Regions from separate parts of the Homo sapiens genome. Here all the other regions are linked to region 1. The links are contacts of gene promoters, found by promoter capture Hi-C in blood cells and fetal thymus (Javierre and others, 2016). All regions are on one chromosome and are shown on one strand. Each heading gives the region's core, a stretch centred on a gene start or on the middle of the fragment in contact. The rest is flanking DNA. Distances are from core to core; before and after follow the strand shown.

Region 1 (5,970 bases), core at 2,587-5,086:
GAAATTATTTATTCTCATGATAATGCGTGGTGAAACTCAACTGGAATGCCATAATGAAAAGAAGAAACAAAGATTCACTAAGAGCAAAAAAAAAAAAAAAAAAACACAGCCAGGATTGTTTTTAATTCAAGAAATACAAATACAAGTCAGTAGGAATATATAGAAAAGTTTCTGCATACCTTTGAAAACAGACCATATCTTATTCATTTTTGTATCCCCAATACCTAGCCTATTATAAATGTAATAAATCTGTAAATGGATCAGATAAAGGAGGAAAAAGCAGAAAACTGTTTCTTCATATTGGGAGATGGACACCTAATAGAGAATGCCACTAAAAGGGAAGGAGTGATCTACAAACGCCAAATGTGATTTACAAACTAGAGAATAAAAACCCTAGTGAGAAATATGGAAAGCCAGGCTACGATAAAGAATTGACATTTCTTGGCTGGGCATGGTGGCTCACGTCTGTAATCCCAGCACTTTGGGAGGCCGAGGCAGGCAGATCACCTGAGGTCAGGAGTTTGAGACCACCCTGGCCAACATGGTGAAACCCCATTATCTACTAAAAATACAACAATTAGCCAGGAGTGATGGTGCATACCTGTAGCCCCAGCTACTCAGGAGGCTGAGGCAGGAGAATCGCTTGAACCCAGGAGGTGGAGGTTACAGAGAGCCAAGATGGCGCCACTGTACTCCCGACTGGGTGACAGTCTCAAAAAAAAAAAAAGAGCTGACATTTCTTGAGCTAGAGATAGGCGTTCAGTTGTCCAAGGCTCCCACTTCTGTTATAGAGAATAGAGTCCTAAGTTGGGGATGACAAATAGTAACACACGTATTATTTCACTTCCATATATGCAGCAGAGATTAATTCAATTACCCACTCTTTCTCACTGAACAGACTTGGCCTCAGCATCTGCATCAACACTATACCTCAGAGAATCTGAGTTGACATAGGAAACATCATAATTGGCATTTGTGACACTGTAATCACAAATCTACAAAATATCACTTTTATTGGTCTGTAAAAGATTGAAGAGATGTCCTGAAAGAAAGGACCATCATCTTCCAAAGTAAGAGAATGAACCAATTCAGCTTAACTCTGCTATTCAAAAGCAGTGGTCCTCAAACTTCCCCATGCATCAGAATTGCCTGGAGAGCTTGCTGTAGGGCCCTATCTCCACCACTTCTGAATCAGTATACGGTCCAGGGTTTGGGCCCACAAATCTGCATTTCAAAAACTCTGAGATCTACCATTGTAGAGTACACTGGAACAAATTCTAAATATGAAAAACTGAAAATCTTTTGACAGCAAGACAGTAAATCATAACTAGCATAGCTTTATGAAGAAAAATGTAAATTAACCCAGTATAGTTTATAGTAAAGCAATGGTCTGGAGCTAAATAATCCTTGGTTTGACCGCTGGTTCTGCTAATTCCAGGTTCATGATTTTTACTAAGATTACTTCAGCTCTATAAACATTAGTTTCTTCACAGATAAAATAGGGATAAGAAAAATATCCCATGGAGTTATTGTTAGGATTAAATAGAAAAAAATACATATCTAGATTTACAAGCACAGTGCCTAGTAGATGGTTCAATCCTATTCATTCAATTCTTCATCCTTTTTTCACTTATAGTAGTAATGGAAATTAAAGCAAAAGAGTGAAATATTTTCATAAAGGTTGTAGTGTTTGTCAGGAGGAAAAATATCTACCTTCTAGAAGGGGTGCCACGGCAGCGACAGCACAAGGCCCGTGCGTCTGGGGTTCCTGTAACAAAAGAAAGGCATATGAATGTATGATATTTAATGTAAGTTTTACATGGCACCAGAGCCTTCATAAGGAAACGAAGACCTGAAGAAACCTGAGCGTTTTATACCAAGCTTGATGAAGAGTAGACTGTTATGGAAAACTGTGATAAGACAAAAAGATGGGCTAAGGGCAGTAAACTGGGGGAAACCTACCAAGGCCTATTCATTTAGATTCCTCTTGGCGTCTCTCTGTCTTCACAAATAAGACTGCTTCTTTTCTCCAGGTATAGAGAGGGCATCTCTCACATGAGGGTCTTATGACCTGCTTCATGGGAAGGTCAGAGTCCTCACACCTGCCATTTCTCAAATTCCATCAGCTTAAAACATTCAATATGCCAAGGTGTTATATTTTGGGGTAGTGTGCCCTGAACACCATCATAAACATGCTAGAAAAATTCTACAGCAAATTAGTGGACAAGGGGAAGGAGCTTAGGTATTAAAGATTGTGGAGAAGATCTATTAAAACACAGGGCCCCAATCCTCCTCTTAAGGAGTCTCCCCTTAAGAGACAGGGTTCACTTTCATCCCATATACTTCTGATTAAAAGGAGCCTCTTATACCCAGGAGAATACATTCCAGGTGCAGAAAGCCAATTACCTAGTTATTCCCTTACCCACGTAATTATAGACCTTAATCCAAATTCAAAGGACTCCTGGGAGATGCTGGAATCTGTAATTGTGTAATCTCTTTGATGAAGCACAGAGTGTGATCTTTTGCTCATGTGGGGCTAGGTTTCTGTGGAGAAGCTGGAAATGCTGTGGAAAAGGGCTTGCCCCTTTTGTGTATATGAACTCTAATGTAGTTGAAATTCCTAGAAGTCAAAGATATAAATCTAACTACTAAAATTCATTTAGTGCATTAAAATGCCAGTTATTAATTTACGGCAACAACTAAAGGGAAGCTTTGTATTATTCTAGGACTACAATGCAATTTATGCTTTGCATAATCATTCAGTAAATGACTTATTGCTCCAGAAATACCATCTTGCTAGATCCCATTCTGAATTCAGTGTTTCTGAGCAATCTCATCTCCAATACAGAGTGATGACATACTCAGGATTCCAAGACGGCAAAATGACTTGGGTAATGTAGTCTAGGGCCTGCCAGTGAGTATGCTGAGACAGACCAGAAAGACTTAAAGATTCCACTAATGTAGACAAAGCAAGCTGAGCCACAACTTCTCGGAACACCAACAGGATGCACCAACAATCGACAAAAAAAAAAAAAAAAAAGGAGATAAAGTTTAAAGTTTGTCTTCCAGCATTCCCTTACCCTATTTTCCCCTTCCTCTTCCCTACTTTATCAGTGGGAAAAGTTCTCAATAATGCAATTCTTACTGAGATTCTTGTGTTTATCAGAGAAATGTTTCCTCTTTCTTTGCCAAGGAATTATATATTCCCAACAGACATGGCGCTTGAATGCTATATTTCCTTTGGAATCAAGAAAGGGGAGGTGGGGGAATCAAAAATTAAAAACCAAACCCAAGCCATTGTTCCTCTTCGAGGAAGGGTGGGTGGTCAGTCGTCGCCTGAGCTCCGAACATCAACCCGCGGCTCTCAAGTTCCCCTCCCAGTAATGCTGGGCCCAGCCTCGCCGCGGCCGATCCAGCCTCTGCCCTAGGTGGAAGCGGGCCACCCGGTCCCTTCACCCACTGAGGCCCAGTCCTTTCGCCTCAACACGAAGGCACCTGGCCGGGCCGGAGCAGCAGCCGCGGGGCCGGCACTGGGGCCACGGAACCCCGGGCCAGACTCAGGCCTGGGCCAGCTCGGCTCCGGCCTGCAGGGGGCGCTGCGGCGGCACCGGCGCGAGGCCCGCGCGTGCGGGGAGCGACCCCAGGTGTAAGTCCCGGGGCGTGGGGCGCGTGGGTCAAGGCGGAGCGACCCAGGATCCCCGCGCCCGCGGCGGCCGCCGAGTGGCAGCGCTGGACTCGCGGAGAAGCTTGGGTACCTGAGCCGCGGTCCCGGGTGACACCCTCAGTGACGCCAGGCGCGTTCCTTCCTCTTCCTCTCTCCTCTCCGGCCCCGCCTTCCCTTCCCTCCGCCCACCTCCCTGAAGCGGAGCCGCCGTCGCCACCAGCGCCGTCATGTCGGCCCCCGCCGGGTCCTCTCACCCGGCCGCCAGCGCCCGGATCCCGCCCAAGTTCGGCGGAGCGGCCGTCTCAGGAGCCGCAGCGCCCGCGGGCCCGGGTGCGGGCCCGGCGCCGCACCAGCAGAACGGTGAGGCGGGCGGCCCGGGCGGAGCGCGGGGCCTAGCACCGGCTGGGCGGCCTGCACGGCCACATCGGGGCGGGGCGGGCCGGGCCGGGAAGGGCGTTCGGGGCCAGGCCCGGCCCGAGGGACGGGAGCGGGCGCGGTGCGGAGGCCGCGGGGTCCGGGTTGGGTGCGGGTAGGGGGCAGGGAAGGCACGGCGCGGGGCGCGCGGGGGTGGGACGCCCCTGGCGTGGGGGCGGGGGCCGGCCTGGGAAAGCTGGGGCCGTGGCTGTTTATGTAATGCGACCCCAGGCCCGAAACGGCCTCGGGCGAGTAGGGGCGACTGAAAAGCTGGGAGCCCACGTAGTAAAACCCAGTTACCTAGCCTGGACGCGGGCGAGTTGCCCCGAGCGACCCCTTGGCTGCGAGAGCTGGCCAGAAGCCGAGGCCGCTGAGTGCGTGGTCCGGAGAAGGCTGGTGCAGCCACCCAGCAGGGTGGATTGTGCCCTTCCTGTCTCAGGAAAATTGCTTCGGTTCCCGAGGCCCAGCGAACACGCTGCCTTGAGGAAACTTAAGTTTGCACTCAAGTTTGTAGACAAAAGGGTGTAAATATGCTATATAAGTGTAACTGTAACCCTGACCCAGTTCGGCCTCAAGAACTGTCATTGCCGCTGCGGCTGCTGCTCAAGCTTTTGGAGTTTGCTTGTAGTGTTTGAAAGGGAGCAGATGTAAACGGATTTAAACGAACATCTTTAGATCTGGGTGTTTTTCCTAGCTCCACTTTCAGAGATGAAAAAACGTGCCAGAGTTGGCCCTGCTTTGAGGCAGGGCCTTCATACAGGCAGCAGCCAAATGCAGCACGAAAGCCGCTTTCATATTAAGGTCGTGGGCTTTTAGTAGGCTGCAAAATGATGGATATGCATTCCCTAATGCTGAGATTTGGAATGTTCGCGGATAGGGGCCAAGGGTGGAGGAATTCTCCTTACAGACTTCTTAGTATGTCAGATGAGAACCTTGGAAAGTAATTGACTGAATTTAGAAAAATACCTCTGTCCTGTGTTGGTACGAGAACCAAACTGCATTAGTACTCTCCAGATGATTGACCTGTTTTATCTAATTTCCTAATGAAAATCTGCTGGACTTTATGAATTAGTTTAATCAACATCTAAGTTTTACAACTGATGCTTTTCAAACATGAAGTGTATCGTTTGTCCTGAGGATCAGAAGTTGAGTGATACTTTAGCCTTAATATTCTTTGGATCAGCCTTACCTATCAGTATTACATGCTGTACTCTCAGTAGTCATTGTTTACTATAATCGCTTTTGGATATAAACCTGTTCTGAACAAATGTAAAAATACTATTTGTGAGCAGTGTTTGTTCTTGTAACCTTAATATAAGTTCTTGTTTTTGTTTGTTTTTAAAATAGCTTTATGAAGGAACTAGAACACGATAATTTAGTAAAAGAGCCCAAGTCTTTTAGAACATTGTAGACTCATGTTTACCAGTGATTCAAGGATTGTGTCTTTCCTTGATTTTCTGAATATGCATTATCATCTTAGTGAACAGTTTTTAAAGTGGCAAATGTTTATTACAGCCTTATAAATTTTGTGAACACTCAAGAATGCCAGGATATGTACTCAGCCAAGTGTAATCAGGATGTTAAAATCTGTAAGAACAAATCAATGTTTTGATGCCAAATATAGATGATGCTTGAGTTCTCTTGTTTATAATCACTACTTTCCTTTAATGTTGCAATAATCATTTCAACATTTATTGCATGCTTACCAGTTGGGGACTCAAGGTTAGGGTAGCAGATGAGACAGAGTCCCTGCCTCTCTCCTGACTTGCCCTGTATTTGGTAATGTTTGAATTGGTTCTGGCTAGCCTTGAGGGACTCGACAGGTTGGGGTGGGAGGGAAAGGTTGACTCTAGGCAGAGGTTACAGCATGAACTAAAGTTTGGAAATATGAA
Region 2 (5,970 bases), core at 1,460-3,959, 1.4 Mb before region 1:
TTTGTTTTTTTTTCTTAGTAATAGCCATCCTAATGGGTATGAGATCAGAGGTTTTTAACATTATACTGTGATGGACATTAGAGATTTCATGAATCTCCTTCATGGTTCCCGAAAGGTTGGTAAAGATTCCTTCTCTGACCTTTGTTGTACATATTGGTCTTCAATATGCATTCTTATGGAAAAAGGTGTTCATGGCTAAAACATTTGAGAGCCGCCACACTGAATGATCTCTGGGTTGTCTTCCTCCTCTCAAAATTGATGATCCTGATTATCTGTAGCTAATAAGCCTGAACAATAAATGCTTTCGCCAATCTCTTAAAGTAGTTGAGAAGCTAGGTGTGTTAGTTTCCCTTCTGTGATAGAGAAGAAACCTGTGTTGGAGAGCAGTGAGCTTATGTGTCTGTGGCCATCTCTGACCTGATTCACACATGTGCCCCTCACAGACAGGCACAGACACAGGGTTGGCATGCCTCTAGCCTTACAGCCTCTTGGATGAAAGGTATAAGACACATTCACATGTTGGAGTGAATTAAGCACACATCCATTTTGAAATCACAGGGCTGGATACCACTTAAAGAATATTGATCTTGCATTGGGCAACGCATAGCAACTGCCCTACATTTCCCCTTTTACCTAGCGTCACAACCACCAGTACTAGAAAGCAGTTAATCTGCTCACCAAAATAACAGAGAGAGACTTTAGTGGCATTTTTTCCACTTGGTAATTGACTAGACTCTGGCTATTAGCTCCTTTTTTTTCCTTACTATCCTTTTCAAACTAATAACGTGACTTCTCATAATTTTAAAGTAACTTGATGCTTACACAAAGTTTATCATAAAGGTTTCTAGCAACAAAACCAGTCATGACTTCTTGAGAACTTATTTCTAAAATAATTTACAAATTGAGACTTATGAAAAAATAGCTCTGTCATTCAAGTGTTCATTTCATGAGTATGAAATATCTCCCTTGTGCTAGACATCAGGCCAGGTAAAAAGTAAGATGTGATTGCTGCTCTTGAGAAACCTACTGTCTAGTGGAAGAAATACAGGTATGAACAACTAATTGTAATGAAGGCACAGACAGCCTACCTGTCATATCTGGGATTTGATCTGAAACAGATGAAAGTTATAATAGTTTACATACCTTACCTTAAAGTATGGTTTTTAAATACTTAAGATGTGATATGACATATAGTGTGTATATATATCTTATGCTAAGGAAAAAGGGACATTAAAAAAGCTTATGTTAAAAGATATATGTATACATTGTACTGCCTGTATGTTTGTGAAATTTGTATTTACTGGAAATTCTCATTGGCCTGTAGATAGGAGTGTTCCTAAGCACCCTATATTGGGATTTGTGGTAACAGCAGCTTGACAACCTGAAGTGGATGATGCAACAGCACTTTTGAAAGGTCTCTCCGTACTATCTTGATTTCATCATCTAAAGTTGGTGTTGGCAAAGAGAAGATAAGTGTTTAGGGTGTTGGATATCCCAGTTACCCTGATTTGATCATTACACATTTTAGGCAGGTATCAAAATGTCACATGTACCCCAAAAGTATGTACAGCTATTACATATCAGTTTTTTAAAGAAGAAAAGGTTGGTATGGTTAGCTTTTCTATTTCAAGTGTATCATTCATCTTTCACATCTGGGATTTCTCCTATGCTCTGGTTGGTTAATAACTTTTATTCTGAAATCGGTGAGATTCTTATGACATGAAATAGTCTATAACCAGTTAAGTTTTTATTTCTCTGTTCTGTTCACATCCTGGGGACTGGGCTGCCATTACATAACTGAGCAGCCATTGGTGGTTCACACCAGCGCCACACCCAGTTATTTTCTTTCAGTATTTGAATTCCTGCACAAAAGATCTGCTGTATCTGCAAATCACTAGAGGCACAAAAGAAGTGATTACCTCTACTAAGGGTTGGGAGAAGTTTCACTAAAGGAGAGATGGTGTCCATGTTAGATTATGAAGGGTAAGTTGAAGTCCATGAAGCAGCAATGAGGGAGCCGGACATGTATGGCAGAGGAAACCACATGAACAAGGGCACAGAGCCATGAGATAGCACAGAGGAGGGAGACGTGTGGTGTGGCTGGGGAAGACTACAGAATCGGGTTACTACCGTCCAAAGCATTTGTTATTTAGCAGTTATTGACCAGCTATCATATTCAAGGCATGTGATAAGTACTAAGGGCTACAAAGACCAAATCAATTTCTGCCATTAAGGGATTTTAAATCTAAGAGCAGAGATTAGACAGAGATCTAAATGACACAGTTTACTTTGGTGTAAAGTAGTACAATAAGAGCAGTAAAAATCTAGTTCTGAGGTTTCAAAATAGAAAGTACATTCATTTGGAAAAAGGCTTCATGGAGAGGGTAGCATTTGAAATGGGCCTGAATAATGGATAGAACATTTCTGGACAGCAGTTAATGGTTGGGATTAAGGAAAAAGTGTTGTCCAGAAAATGGTGACCTACAGAATAGTGGTACCAGTAATGAAGGCCAAGGAGAATTGATTTTAGGGTCAAGGTGATAACTGCAGCTTAGATAGATTATTTTGGTTTCAGGCACAGTTGGAAGTATGAGAACGATTGGAATTTCAGAAGGAAATTATATTGGAAACAGAACCTTGAAGGAAGTCCTTGTTTATAGGCTTAGAAGATCAAGAGAGGTCAATTAATATGGCTAAAAGGAACAGACAGATAAGAAACTGAAGAGTTTCAAAAATGAAACTTTTATTGGCAATGTACAGAGCTGTTGTAGAAGATGAAGCCAAAGAACAGGCATTGACTTTAGCAATTTAGTAGACCATTGATAAGTTACAGTAGTCCCCCCTTACGAGGGGAGGGAGTACATTCCTAGACCCTCAGTGGATGCGTGAAACTGCAGATAGTACCAAATCCTATACATACTATGTCTTTTTGATCTGATAACCCAGTCAACTACCAAGTGACTAATGGATTGGGTAGTATACAGTGTGGATATGCTGGACCAAGGGATGAGTCTCCTCCCAGACAGGACAATTCAAGATTGCATCACACTACTCAGAATGACATGCAATTTAAAACATGCATCATTTATTTCTATAATTTCCCATTTAATATTTTTGGACCATAGTTGACTGTTGGTAACTGAAACTACAGAAAGTAAAACCACAGATAAAGGGGGGACCAACTGTATCTAATTTCATGCAGCAGTGGTGGTGGAAGAAGCTACTCTGATAGGAATGTTTGTGTTCCCTCCAAAATTTATGTCGAAGCTGAATCCCCAGTGCAGCAGTATTAAGAGATAAGGCCTTTAGGAGGTGATTAGGTCATGAGGGTTCTGTATTCATGAACAGCTTAGTGCCATTTAAAGGGGCTTGAGAGACCAACTTTGCCTCTTCTCCCTTCTGCCATATGAGGACACAGTGCTCGTCCCCTCCAGAGCAGGGGTCCCCAACTTCTGGTCCGTGGCCCATTAGGAACCGGGCCACATAGAAGGATGTGAGCAGCTAGCAAGACTTCATTTGTATTTACAGCTGCTCCCCATCACTTGCATTGCTACCTGAGCTCTGCCTCCTGTTGGATCAAGAGTTGCATTAGATTCTCATAGGAGCATGAATCCTATTGTGAACTGTGCATGTGAGGGATCTAGGTTTCGTGTCCTTGTGAGAATCTAATGCCTGATGATCTGTCACTGTCTCCCATTATCCCCACATGGCACCATCTAGATGCAGCAGAACAAGCTCAGAGCTCCCACTAATTCTGTATTGTGGTGAGATGTATAATTATTTCATTATATATTACAATGTAATAATAATAGAAATAAAGTGCACAATCAATGTAATGCACTTGAATCATCCCTAAACCATCCCCTCTTCCCTGCAAGACGGTAGAAAAATTGTCTTCCGTGAAATTGTCTCCCATGTCTTCCTGGTGCCAAAAAAGGTTGGGGACCTTTGCTCCAGAGCATGCAGCAGCAAGGCACCATCTTGGAAGCAGAGAACAGCCCTCACCAGACACTGAACATGCTGATGATCTTGATCTCTGTTGTTTATACATTACCCAGTCTTTGGTATTTTGTTATAGCAGCACTAACAGACTGAAATAAGCCATATTACTAGAGTTTAGGAATTTAATGGCTCAGGAGAAAGTAGAAGCACCAAGTGTAGTGAATAAAATAGCAGCTAACAAGCTTTGTGCACCTTCACATGCCTGGCACTGGTCTAAGCATGTTAAACACATTAACTTCTTTAATCCTCACAACAGTTTTATGAGGTGGGTACCTTTGTTACTAACCTTTATGACAGATCAGGAAACCAAGACATAGAGGCTTCGTAGCTCACCCAAAGTCACACAGTGAGTGAGTGGCTAAATCAGTGTCTTAGTCTTTTTTTTTTTTTTTTTTTGCTGCTATTAACAGAATACCTGAGACTGGGTAATTTATAAAGAACAGAAATTTATTTTCTCATAGTTCTGGAGGCTGGGAAGTCCAAGATCAAGGTACCAGCTTTGGTGTCTGGTGCAGACCTACTCGTTGTGTCTTGCTGGGGGAAGAAGGCTGTCTGCACATGGCAGAAGGTGGAAGAAAGCTAGACGAACTTTCTCCGTCAAGTCCTTTTATAAAAACCTTTAATCCCATTCATGAGGGAGGAGCCCTCATGGCCTAATCTCCTCTTAAAGGCCGCACCTCTCAATACTATCATATTGGCAGTGCCTGACTTTTGAAGAGGACACATTCAAATCATAGCCAGGTTTTAAACCCAGGAACTCCAACTATAGGCTTGTTTCTCCACATATCACCATGCCACCAAGTAATTTAAAGACTTTGGTGGTAAAGCAAAGGCCAGCCTCAGGTGATTAAGGAGGATCCTTTTCTTCCTCCCTTTTTATATGGAGCAGGATCCCAGCCCGTTTGTAAAAAAATAGAAGGACACAGAAGGGAAAACTTGAAAATGAAAACTGAAAAACAAGTCATGAAATCAGAAGATGTGAGATCAAAAGCAAAATAAAATAGTTTACCTTAGAAGGCTGTGCCTGGATCCAACAATAGGCCTCAGACCCTTGCAGAAAGAAGAAGGGGGCAGCCCAGAATTAAAAAAAAAAAAAAACAAAAAAAAAACCCGCAAGCTATTGTGATGTGCCAGGCACCACTGCAGGTTTTTGACTTGTATTAACCCATTTAACCCTCCCAACAACCCTGTTGCCCCTGTTTTATAGATGAGGAGACAGCCTGCTGAGGTTAAGGAATGTTTTCCATCCCCAACTTGGCACACAGGCTCTGGAGTCTGGCCCTTGCCTGTCTCAGTACTGTTTCAGGCTGTTGCCCTCAGACCCCGCCATGCCTTCCAGGGTCAAGAAAGGCATGTGAGCAGGCAGCTTGAGCTCCCTGTCACGTGTAGACAGTGAGAATAATGTGCCTTCCCCAAAGGCAGTTATGAAGATCAGAGGAGATAATTTATGAAAAGTGCAAGCTCTCTTGAGAGTAGGGGATTTTGTTTGTTCACCTTACAAGGCAGGTGTTGAGTCAATAGGCTGCAGTCAGTGAAGGAATGAATGCAGTGGCATGCGCAGCGTGGTGGTCTAAGTGGTAGTTTTGGTCCATCCCTAGGGGAGCACAAGTCTTGGGCAGAGGATCAAAAGCACACACCTCTGAGAAGCCAAGTGTTTTTGTCTGTAACCTTTGATCATTCAAAAGGAAGCATTTTCTAACCTCTGCATTTTTTTACCCAAACTGTACAAAGGCTTCCTTGCTGTCCAAGTTGTGGTATACTCCAGTGCAGCTGCCTGGCTTCCAAGAGAAACTTAGCACTTCTTGTTCTGTTTGTAGCCTCAAATCAACATGTAACCAAAAGCTGTGAATGAATAATCCAAACTTGAAGAACCCCAGATTTTATTCAGGAGGAGTAACTGGAAGCCATAACCATGAACTTCCATATCTGTCATAGGAAAGAGGTTGGCCTCAGCAGCAATGAGGGATA
Region 3 (5,970 bases), core at 1,922-4,421, 1.4 Mb before region 1:
GTGTAGGTCATGGATACTCCTATGCCAGAAGCTGCTCTGACGTTCCTTGGTTCATTTCACACTGGCATCTAGAGGCTGCAGAGACATCTGACAGCAGACAGTTAAGGACATGTAGGGTACTTCTGTGCTCCACTCTCGGGCATAGGAGTACCCTACGTGTCCTTAACTGTCTGCCAAGGACCCTCAGAGCAGTTCTGTGTTTCCTCCTTTTTTGGATGGAGCAAACAGAATGGTGTAATTGAAGGGAATGCCTATAGACAGAGAGGACTTTCCTGTTTTGAGCTTCATCTGGGTTCAATCGAAGTACTCTTGGGAGTGTTAAAGGAGCATTGACTTCTTAGCTGGCTGGCTTCCTGGTGGAATTCTTCCTGGCAGAATGTACCTTGGGATCCAGAGCCTTCGAGTGTGTGACACCTGACCCACTGATCAGTGCTCTTCTAGTGACTTGTTTGACTATATTTTCATGCTTCTTGGTTGGAATTGAATGGCAGAATAAGATTATATGACAAAAGCAATTCTCAGGGCACTTCCGGTGGGCAGTGGCTAAAGAGAGTCACTTGCATACCAGCTTGTCGGAATGTTAACCTTCAGAGATGGGTGGCCTTGTGGCCAGAGAGGCCCTGCCCCTGACAAAGAGAAGAGACTTGCCTTTCTGTCATCTGTCCATCACTGCCAATCAGTGTCCTCGTGCATTTCACACTGGCATCTAGAGGCTACAGAGACATCTGACAAAAACAGAATATACTTGTGGTACCGGGACTGGCTCCCAGGCCAGCAGGGAGCCCTCTGGGATAATAAACAGCCACCCCAAAAAAGGGAGTTTTGTCAAGCAGTTTGATCTTTATTGAAAAGATTGGTCGCTCTTGGTGACAGTGAAAGGCCTGACTGCCCTCCATTGTCCATGTCTGGTACAGAAGAAGGATCACTGGAGAAAGTCAGGAGGCCTGGGCCTGGTGCTGACCCCCTCACCACCTCCAGCCTTGGAAAGGTCCTCAGTTTCGTCATCTGTAATGCAAGTTGAGGTGATTGGGGTAAATAATTTCCTAGACCTTTCTGGCTCTAACTCTCTAAGACTAGCTTCCCCCATTTGTAAAATAGGAGCAGCAGCACTGGTACCTATTGTACAGAGTTGTTTAGGAAACTCATTTCATTTAGCTCACATTTCCTGAGTGCCTGCTGTGTATCAGGCACTACACTAGGCTCTTTAACCTGAATTGATGCAAAACAGATATGAGGTGTGAAAAGAAGGCATGACCCATAGTCATACCAAAGATGTGACTTTGCTGCTGACCTTCTCCACCTTTCTTGGCACTGTTTGTTTTTGTTTTAGATCACCACCATTATTGAATGCTTGCTACAATTTTTAAGCAGCCGTATTGAGAGGTACTTTACTGACAAATTTTACAGTTCGATCCTATAATGGGAGAAGAAAATATAGTCAAGTGATACATTTCGGGTTGGAAGCCCTGATGAAACAGTTGCATCCTGGAGAGAACATGACTTCTCTAGCAGCAGCCTAAGACACACAAATGAAAAGTATGACCAGACGCACAGGCAGCCAGATCGAAGTCCTGACTTTCCCCTTTAGACAAAGTACAGACTCTTGAATCCTTTGCCATCCCCACCAACCCTCTTGTCTTCTTTATACTAGGGTCTGGGGCCATTGCTAATAATCACTGTGCTTGTGTTGTCGATTTTCTTTTAGAACATTTAAGAGAAAAGTAGTTTTTTTGGTACCTGAGTGTCCGAATGAAAAAAACAAAAGATGGTTCAAGACAAGTGTTTCCAGGAACATGTAAGAGTACTTTTTTTTTTTTTTTGAGACGGAGTCTCGCTCTGTCGCCCAGGCTGGAGTGCAGTGGCATGATCTTAAGCTCACTGAAACCTCTGCCCCCCAGGTTCAAGCAATTCTCCTGCCTCAGCCTCCCTAGTGGCTGGGATTACAGGCATGCGCTACCATGCCCAGCTAATTTTTGTATTTTTAGTAGAGACGGGGCATGTTGGCCAGGCTCGTCTCGAACTCCTGACTTCAAGTGATCCACCTGCCTCGGCCTCCTAAAGTGCTGGTATTACAAGTGTGAGCCACCGTGCCCAGCCCAGAGTACATTTTGTTTGTGGATGAAAAGACTGTCCTATGTGTTTAGTATTCTCTGAAGACAGTGTGAGACTTTTAGGAACAAAGTCAGCCTGACCCTGTTGGGAGAGGCAGAAGCAGAGGTCTGCTGGGGAGAGATCATTTCCTCCTTCTGATAAAATGTGCCAGAGTGCCCTGGACTGGTGATACCTGGAACTGGGCTCTGATGTCACTTTATTTTACCAAATGTGCCCAAGTTTCCCCTTTTTGCAGGTGAATGGCCCTTCAAACATTCTACAAAAAGGGGTATTACGATTGTAATACTAATCTTTAAAATAACACTTTCTTTTCTTAACGGGAGTGTGGAGCCACAGCTGGCACAGCCTTGGGCCCAGGCTGTCCCTGCTCTGTTTTTGTGGTTCCAGGTGCTTGTGGTGCAGGTTGTGTGGTTGAACAGTGCTTGTGTTGGCCACACACATTGTTATTGGAAGAGGATCTTTTTTTCATTACCTTCTGTAATGGGGAATAGTTTATATTATTTTCCCCAATGACCAAAAGCAAGAAACTTTGAAAACTGAAATTTTAAGACCTTAAAACAATGTCATTTTTTTTTTAAAAAGGAAACCCTGGCATTTAAATGGCCTACCTTGGAAGCTGTTGGAGAAGGTGGATGTGCTCATACCTGGAAAGAGAAGGCTCTCCGCTGCCTACCCACACTGGTCTCGCCTTTTACCTCTTTTCCCTCCTTTCCAAATAACTGGTTTCTTCTCCCTTCTCTTCCTCCTCTCCTCCCACCCGCCCCTGATTTGAGCAGATTATAGTATTGCCTGTTAGGTAAGCAGAAACCCCCAAGCCTGGTCAGTAAGGGATCCTTTCCTTTCCTGCCCTGTTACAGTCCATCTTGGTTGGAATCAGCACCAGGCCTGTTTGTATGTTTTTATCCGCAAGGTGGCGCTGCAGGAAAGCCTGGAAGTCAACCTGTTTAAAGCTTTTCCTCTCATGCTTTTGGCACGCCACTTTACTGTGGCCTTAAAGAACTAAATTTGGTTTAAGTCAGTATGGATTTTTTTTAATGAATAAGTTAATGTCTTATATATGCATATGCCTATATCCTCTTTTCCCCATATCTACCCATGTAACCTTAAAATTTTTTTGAACCATGTTGGTGTTCTTGTTTTCATTTTAATTCCCATTCAATTGAAAAATAAAGCTTTTCACTTCAGGGAAAATATCTTAATTCACGTTTATTATCATATGTTTCTGATTGAGGATTTATGTGTTCATTTAGAATTTTGTTGCTTTTAGGTGTCTTTCTTTCATTATTTTTTGATCACTGAGTTTCGTTTGTGACTGGGGTTGGTTAAGTAGCTTGATCAATTAGCCACCTCTTGTTATCTCACATACCTTGGAAGTTAACTAATACAAGTAGGTAGGGGAAATTTTGTTCTGGAAAATCAAGGAAGGATTGGTGAAGGTTAAATACCTCTTCGGAACAGGAAATTCCAATTTTATTTCAAATTTAAAAATTTTTAAAAAGCTGAAGTCACTTGATTTCAGCCTCTTATATGAAGATGTGTCTTCTCCCTCATTCCCCCAATGGGTCAGGACAACAGATGTGGCAGTAAGCAGTCACCTTGTGCATTGCATCCAAGAGTCATGCTGTTTTGAAAGAAGAGATTCACTCTGATACTCCCACTATATTTTCTCTTCACAGACATACAATCTTTGCCAGCAACACTTCCTCCTTGCAGATTACAAGCATAGCTAATGCCACCACCAGACAAGACCGATTCGCTGGCCTCCATTTCTTCAACCCAGTGCCTGTCATGAAACTTGTGGAGGTCAGTGGGTGTCAGCTTGTGTGTGTCTGCCCGCTCTGCCAGCTCTCTCAGTCCTGCTTTTCTGTGTTACACCAGCCCTGCCACCAGTTGCCTAGGATGGGTTTTAACCTGAGGGTAGAAGGTTGTCCCTGAGCCTCATATCTAGGAGGGCTTCTATGCTTTGTTTCTTCACAGCCCTGTGTCTTGCTTAGTGATATCCAGAAAGGCTGTTAACTTTGTGGAATGTCATTTACTTATTTGTGCCAGAGCTGATGGGCAGTGCTGAGAGGCATCAGAATGGGAAGGCAGCACTAGAAACCGTGGGCTGGATGGGACCACACAGAGGGCAGCTACATGTGTTCATATTATCTCGTCGAGGTCAGCTTGCCCATGCTGTAAATGCAGTTCTCATTAGATACACTATACTAGCTTGTCCACAGTTCCTGGGGTTAATTCTGACCCCATGTAATGGTGCCTTAGCGTTGTCCCCAGATGAGGTACATCTCCTGTGCATTGTGATCAGAGCTATTAAAACCAGCTCCCATTGGGTGCGGCGGCTCATGCCTGTAATCCTAGAACTTTTGGAGGTGGAAGTTAGTGGATTGCTTGAGACCCAGGGGTTCAAGAACAGCCTAGGCAACATGGCAAGACCCCATTTCTACAAAAAATAAAAAATCAGCCAGGGGTTTTGGTGCACGCATGTAGTCTCCAGTACTTGGAAGGCTGAAGTGGGAGGATTGATTGAGCCTGGGAGGTTGAGGCTGCAGTGAGCTGTGATTGCACCACTGCACTCCAGCCTGGATGACAGAGCAAGATCCTATATCGAATAAAAAAACCCTAAAAGTAAAAAAATAAAACCAGCTTCTGATAGCCTTGAGCCTCCTGACCATAAACCTGGAAGGTGGAGCGGGGAGGCAGGGAGGGCTTCCCCAGCATCCTGTTTGGAATGCTTGGAGACTCCAATATGTTGGAGTTGGAGTCACAGTAGGCAATTTGCACCTGAAATGGGACAACTTGCCTTTTACAGGGTCCTAATTACAGGGTCTGAGGAGCAGCCGCTATTAAAGTAGCATTTGTTCTGAGGTTGAGGAGTTATTGCCCTGCGAAGTGTGGGGGACGCTGATGCTGCCATGTGGGTGATGTGGGGCCAGGCAAACCTACACACACTGGCTGTGGCCTCTCTGGGAGTGTGTATCGTCTGTTTTCTTCATTATTGCCTTTTCCAACTACCTTTTCCTTCCTTTATCCTCCTCATTCCCTCACCACTACTCAGCATAAGCATTTTTAATAAGTCATAATAATGACCATTTTTTTTAGCATTTTCTCTCAAGTGACAACTTTGACCATCTTGCAATGGGACTTTTTCTGTCTTACTAACATTGCTTCTCAGCTTCCTCCTATTTTCTCCTATCCCCTAAGGCTGATTTTTTGAAGAAATTGAAGAATGAAGGGGAGGGATTTGGGGAACAGAAGAAACAGCATTTAACAGCTCTTATCTCATGCAGATTAAGAGCAAAGAAGTGGCATGCATTTCCAACATTTCAGTACTTAGGGACTAGTTGATTTCTTTAGTTATTATATTGTATATATAAGTGTTTTGGAGATAGGCACATTCTGTAGATTTACTTTAATAATGTTTTCAACTGCATTTATCTGGTAATGTATGCTTTTGTCTTTGGAAATGTAGTGTGTTGGTTGTTAACAGCTGATGTTTAGCAAATGCTACTATTTTTTAGAAAGTATTTTGTAAAAGTGTTCTTCTCTATTCAGTTTTTATTGTTTAACTTTAGCTCTTCCTTGTGTTGCTGGTGGTGTACACCAAAATAACTTGTATAATAAGCTAAGTGGCTCCTTTACTTAGGACTGGGCTCATTTAAATGTATATATATATGTATTTTTTTTCAGACTCTGTTGGAACTAGGAGCAGCGTATCTGTACAAATTACTGTTCGTTGAATGAATGAATGAGTGAATAAACATCCATCTCTCCTGTTTAAAAAGAAACAAACCTTCACTATTATTAACTCCCTTAAACCAAAAACTTAATTTGAAAACTCCATAGTCAGCAGTGTTTGTC
Region 4 (5,970 bases), core at 1,945-4,444, 1.1 Mb after region 1:
ACTCACACCAGCCTCAGAGTCCTACATTCTTAGAACTTAACAGACAAGCTAAGAATAACCAGGTATATGAGGAAAACAAGTAACATAAAAGAAAAACATCCAAGACAAATAGAAACACCGTGGGAGTAAATAGTGATAACTGGAGAAACAAAAGAGAATCCCGAAAAAGTCATAACAAAATTAAACATGCACACACACAACCTTTAATTAATGTATTCAAAAATTCAAGAATATGATAGTCATAAAAGAAAAACCAAAAAGTGACGAGAAAACGATCAGAAATAGTAGTCAGAGTTTTAGAACGTGATTTCCAAAGCATGGCTTGGGTCTGATCCCCAGGAACCTGTTTCCGACCCATTCCTTCCAAAACTGGAGCTCAATATGCTTATAGCTTCCGATCCTTATGTCTTGTTCCCATTTTTATATTTTATCACTAATTTCTGAGTATTAGGATTAGTGGGGTGCATCAAAGCATCCCTTTACTGTACCACCTGTACCCAAAGTCCTTTATTACTTTTTTAGTAAAAAACAAAAATAAAAAATGAAGCCATGTATTTGTTATGTACACCATTAATAGGTGACTATTCTTATCCATTCTTCTTCTGACAGTATTATTCTGGTACATTAACCACCTGCTATTCATAATCAGATTATACTATGCAATCTAAGAATCTATAATGCCCTGATTCAACTTGCTTGGGTATATTCACCTCTCTGACAATAGTTCCTTTATATCAATAAACACAGAATCAATGCCTGCATTCTTAATAGTTTAGTTGGAGAGAGTACAGCAGACTTTAGAGTTGAGCCATTCATTATGTTTAAAATATCCTTGTCGCTCATGAGAAAAATTAAATTGGTTTTGGAGGTAGCTCAGAAGTCTTTTCACTCTTCATATTTTCTTTTTAAATTAATTGCATTGCATTTTGATTCAATGCTAAACAGAGTAACATGAAGAGTTACTTAGAATAGTTTAGCAACAATTGAAGCCAGCCACTGATGGAAGGAATTTTTTACAATTCTGCAAGAAATCTACTCCTGAGGTCTTCTTCAGGTTTAGTTGATTGATTAGGGTTTTAAAGTAAATGAAATCACTGAATTTCACCCCAGAAAAACAAACAAGTGGACACACCCTGAACTGTGCATAGTATAGAGAGATTATATGACTTTTTAGTTATGTGAACAAACTGTTGAGTTATTGTTTAAAAAAAATGTAATCCTATTGTTCCTGCAGGAGTCATCAGAGAGGAAACAATATCCCCAATAAGCATGTCATGAACATGAGAGTTCAGCACAAAGTTCCCCATTGGAATTTATTGCAATTCATTTTCAAACCAAGAACAATGTACATTATAAATATATTTTTGAGTTTTTAAAATTATAGGTTTAATTCATGTACATTATTGAAAATTTGGAAAACGCAAAGTAGGAAAAAGGAAAATCCCCCGTATTAGTATATATAAAATCATTTGAAGTTGTTAGGTTTGTGTTGCTTTCTGAGGTACAGTTGACCTACAGTAACTTTCCCAGAATGCTTTCGCTCTGCATGATTCTTTAAGGAATCAAATTCAGGACGAGTTAAATGGCAATGGTGGCCGGGCGCGGTGGCTCATGCCTATAATCCCAGCACTTTGGGAGGCTGAGGTGTGCAGATTACTTGAGGTCAGGAGTTTGAGAACAGCCTGGCCAAAATGGTGAAACCCTGTCTCTACTAAAAATACAAAAATCAGCCGGGCGTGATGGTGTGTGCCTGTAATCCCAGCTACTCGGGAGGCTCAGGCAGGAGAATCGCTTGAACCCAGGAGGCAGAGGTTGCGGTGAGCCGAGATGGTGCCACTGCACTCCAGCCTGGGTGACAGAGCAAGACTCGGTCTCAAAAGTATACATAAATAAATAAGTAAATAAATAATAAATGGCACGAGTGATTTCGTTCCTGAGAAACAAAAATCTCAGGAGCCCTTGAATTTCTTTGGGGGCATTTGGCATCTGTATTTTATAAAGAAGTATGTGCAAAAACAAGAAATTACCTTGTTGGAGATTATTTCAACTCTAGTCAAGTTTTCCTTGGCTTTCCTGAACAGAGGGGGAAGCTGGGAGGAATTATTCACTAAGGGAATGCTGGTGGAAGATATTATCCATTTAATTAGGTTTGTACTATGACCATATTAATTCTAATATATCAGTAGAAGGGATTATGTTGTACTTTCTTCCAAAAATCTTACAGGATGATCGCTGAATAATTGCATCTAGGATTCTCTCTGTGAATGGGTTCTTCCTACTGTCTGTGTCTTCTTACTTGCTTCCATCTTAGTCCGTTGTTTGCCTGGATTAGAAAGATAGGCTGAAGGCAGAGTATGTATGTATATATGCCATGGATTTTTAAAAACAGCCTATCTTTATAACAGTTTTAGGTTTTGTGCCATAGACTTTGATTTATGTATTTCTCTTCATAGAAATAATCTTATTTTTTAAGTTTCATTGCTTTAATGCTCAGAGATATATTTTTAAACTTCTTATTTTGAAATAATTTTAGATTTACAGAGAGTTGCAAAGACACAAGAGTCTCCATGTAACCTTCCCTTAATGTTAATATCTTATATAACCATTTATCAAACATTCGTCAAATCTAAGAAATCAATGTAATACAATACTATTAACTAAACAACAGTCTTTACTTGGATTTCACCAGTTTTTTCACTAATGTGCCTTTTCTATTCCAAAATCCAATAGATGATACATCTACATTATACTTAGCAATGCTGTCTCCTTAATTCATTCTGATATATGACATTTCTCAGTTTTTTTCTTTTTTATGATCCTGACACTTTTTAAGAGTACTGTTCAGGTATTTCGTAGAAAGTTTCTCAGTTTGGGTTTGTGTGATGTTTCCTCAAGATTAGACTGAGGCTTTGGATTTTGGAGAATACCACAGAGGTGAAGGGTCCTTTTCATCACATCCTATCAGGGGGTACATGACATCCTCATGACTTATTCCTGGTGATGCTAACTTTGATCACTTGGTTGAGATGGTGTCTGCTAGGTTTCTCTGCTTCAGTTTACTAGTTTTTTATTCCAATCTTCTGTTTTTTAGAAGCAATCGCTAAATGCAGTCCACACCCAAGGGGAAGAGAGTTAAGCTCTACTTCCTGGAGGGAGGAGTCACAAAGAATTTATGGATATACATTATGACCACCACAGTGATTAATAAATATTTAGGGAGTGATAATTAAAGGCTATGTGAATATCCTGTTAGTTCTTCAGGTTTTGACCACTTATTGTAGCATTCCCCAGTGGATGTCCACAACAACTGTTATTGTGGTGTTCTAAAGGTGATTTTTCTGTTTTCCTCAGAATTATTTTTGACATATGGTCATTTCATTATTTTAAAAACTTATTTTGGCTGTGGCTTTGCTAAGTTTTCAGAATGAATTTGATTTCTAGAACATTTTAATTAGTTTTTTTTAATTAATTTCTTTACTGGAAGGGTTATCTTTAAATGGAAGGTTATTAATCTCCCTTGAAGGAAACTGTTTAATTTAGTAAGCCACGGAGGATTGCTAATGATTCTTATTTTTTATTTAAATTTACAAAAATATAAACAAAATAATAAAAATAATGTAAGATTTTATGGGGTAATTTAGATTTTTTAATGTTCATTTTTTAATTTCTTAAAAATTATACTGCAGTAATAATCACTAAGCATCAGACAACTTAAATTTTAACTTAAATGGAAAGTAAGTGGCCAATAAATGCTTTGTGTAACCTAATGGCCGTGCTGAGTTTCTTCTTAAACAGCAATTCATAGCAGGTGAGTTCCGACTCAGAGTCCGAACATGTTTTGAACCAGCATAGCTACAGCGGAAAAAAAGGTGTTTTTTCACCTAAACTTCAAACCAAGGTTTTGCATATTCATACTAATTTATCTATGAGGAAGGAGCAAACTAAAATTTAGAAAGAATATATCACATTGATAAGGCAGAACTTAAAAAGAAAAAAACTGATGTATCACTATTCCTTTCAACTAAGTACCCTCCTCTGCTAACTTTCCACCTACTACTGGAAGAATATTTAAAAGAACATAAACTTTATAAAATTTAACACATTAATGGCATGTTCAGTAATACCAGCTATGTACCTTAAATATGCATTTATATATTTAAAAACAATATAGATTTATTTTCTCTTTCTCATCCTGGCTACCTCAGTATTGATAATGAAACAGTTTCTTCAAACTGATTATTGTGTACATTTTTATTGAGCATCTACTATGTGCACTGGAGGATGCTAAACCCTGAAGAGAGTGAAATATGCTGATATCTGTACTTCAATTAAGATGTGCACCAGATACAGTCACCACTGCCCTGTGCCACCCAAGTGTGTTTTCAGGTCTTTCTTGGTGTTACTAGCCCTGAGTGCCAAGGATCTCAGCTTGTTTTTGGGGGATCCTTTAAGCATGCTCGTCATTTAAAATGATGTGGCTCTTTGGAACAGCTCAGATGAGACCTTGCAAAAAAAACCTCAAGAGGTAAATGGTGCTACTTCTGCGGGATGATCAGCAGTGAAAAGTCAGGCTGCTGTCAATAAGTAGAGTGACCATATAATTTATCATCTATAAATATATATATAATAAATAATAGAGGAGGTGTTATTAATTAAGCTGGAACAAGACGTATAAACAGGTAAGCAACAGATTTACATTCCAGGGACATTCCTGGGCAAACCTGAATGTATGGTCACCTCTATCAATAGAAAACACTCAATAGACAAGGACAATAAGGATGTGGATCCAGGGCACAGCGGGGCTGCGGCACTTTCCAGGTGGAATCATGCAGGGCCCTGCCTGGCTTCTGACCCAGGTGACGGTGGCAGTGGTAACGGGCAGTCTGTTTAAGCTGATTCTTTTCTGTTCCATGGTCTTTCCAAGTTCAAGGTTCTCATCTCAGTCCCCTCACACTCTTTCAGGGTCTGTTTCAGGTCTTGTCCCTTCAACCTTCCCTCACCTTCCCTGGCCCAGGTAAATTTTGTCTAGTTTTTTGAGACAGAGTAGCCTGGACATCTCTTTATTCTCTTTTCAATTATTATTAGAGTTAAAAACCCTGTGGTTTGCTTTTTTCCTGGCCTTCTGTTTTTATTGCTAAAAGTCTTTTGAAACCAGGCCCTTACAATCCAAAAAGTTTGGGCTTTTAAATGTGTTGTGTGGGCATCAAGAGCCTATTTTGAAAGTCAAAACCATAACATTTATTTTTTTCCCCTGCATTTTTCAATGTTCTTACTGGCAATGTGGACACCATAGTGTAAGTATCAATCACATATAAGGAAGTACGCACACAGAAAATTACAGAGGTTAATAATTCAGTGTATTATCTCTAATGATACTAACACTTTTGATGGGACACATAGAACTATTACATGTCAAACATTGCTTATGTGTTATTTAATACTCGAAATAACCCTATGACATAAGTGCTGTTGTTATATCTATTTTACAGCTGGGGAGGTCAAGATTCAGTCTTATAAGTAGAGAAAATAGGCAGCATGATATGTGAAAACAAACTTTGTCCTGAACTCTAGCGTCGGTCCTGTCTTAGACTTCATTTTTCTCATGTATACAATGAGGAAGTTTATTTTCAAATCACCTTCAAACTCTAAAATTATAAATAGAGGTCTACAATCCTTGTCCCAAACCCTCATGGCCAGTTGTATGTTGGAATTCAGAAATTTTCAGATTTGTGAAAGGTAATGTAGTTTGAATACTATATGTTAATGATTAACTACAGTGGGATTTGGGGCAATGTCTTATAATCAGTGATACTTCTGCAGCAATTTTTTATAGTGAGAAAAATAAAGATTTTTGAAAAACTCTTAACAGTTCAGGTCATATGATATTGCCAAATTAGTTTGCTTAAACATATAAAAAGTTTTAGAACTCATTGGATTTATTAGTGTGGATTAGGGGTTGTGGGAACTGGA

Evidence for each region. Contacts are between HindIII fragments. The CHiCAGO score rates a contact against its expected background, and 5 or more counts as called.
Region 2: a contact is called between a fragment that was not itself captured here and the fragment with the promoter of SEC24B in region 1, in 1 of 17 cell types (fetal thymus). The highest score is 5.4, in fetal thymus.
Region 3: a fragment that was not itself captured here is called in contact with the fragment with the promoter of SEC24B in region 1 in 1 of 17 cell types (fetal thymus); the score reaches 6.8 in fetal thymus.
Region 4: a fragment that was not itself captured here is called in contact with the fragment with the promoter of SEC24B in region 1 in 1 of 17 cell types (monocytes); the score reaches 7.9 in monocytes.

Annotation. Positions count from the first base shown.
Region 1 is chr4:109,429,979-109,435,948 of GRCh38, forward strand. It overlaps SEC24B (SEC24 homolog B, COPII component), which reads left to right and starts at 3,837. Exons shown (of 24, transcript NM_006323.5): 1 at 3,837-4,024. The coding sequence starts at 3,892. It overlaps SEC24B-AS1 (SEC24B antisense RNA 1), which reads right to left and starts at 3,839. Exons shown (of 3, transcript NR_039978.1): 1 at 3,756-3,839; 2 at 1,714-1,768; 3 at 1-802. RefSeq lists silencers at 3,467-3,856, 3,907-4,176, 4,555-4,849 and enhancers at 3,731-4,590, 4,667-4,816. The HindIII fragment of the contact is 940 bases long and covers 3,745-4,684 here.
Region 2 is chr4:107,998,727-108,004,696 of GRCh38, forward strand. All of the region lies in intron 1 of HADH (hydroxyacyl-CoA dehydrogenase), which reads left to right. Among named protein-coding and RNA genes, the nearest start is that of HADH, 12 kb to the left of the region's middle. The HindIII fragment of the contact is 2,945 bases long and covers 1,238-4,182 here.
Region 3 is chr4:108,015,752-108,021,721 of GRCh38, forward strand. HADH (hydroxyacyl-CoA dehydrogenase) reads left to right here. Exons shown (of 8, transcript NM_005327.7): 4 at 3,789-3,915. Among named protein-coding and RNA genes, the nearest start is that of HADH, 29 kb to the left of the region's middle. The HindIII fragment of the contact is 222 bases long and covers 3,061-3,282 here.
Region 4 is chr4:110,493,846-110,499,815 of GRCh38, forward strand. All of the region lies in intron 3 of ENPEP (glutamyl aminopeptidase), which reads left to right. Among named protein-coding and RNA genes, the nearest start is that of ENPEP, 21 kb to the left of the region's middle. The HindIII fragment of the contact is 8,500 bases long and covers 1-5,970 here.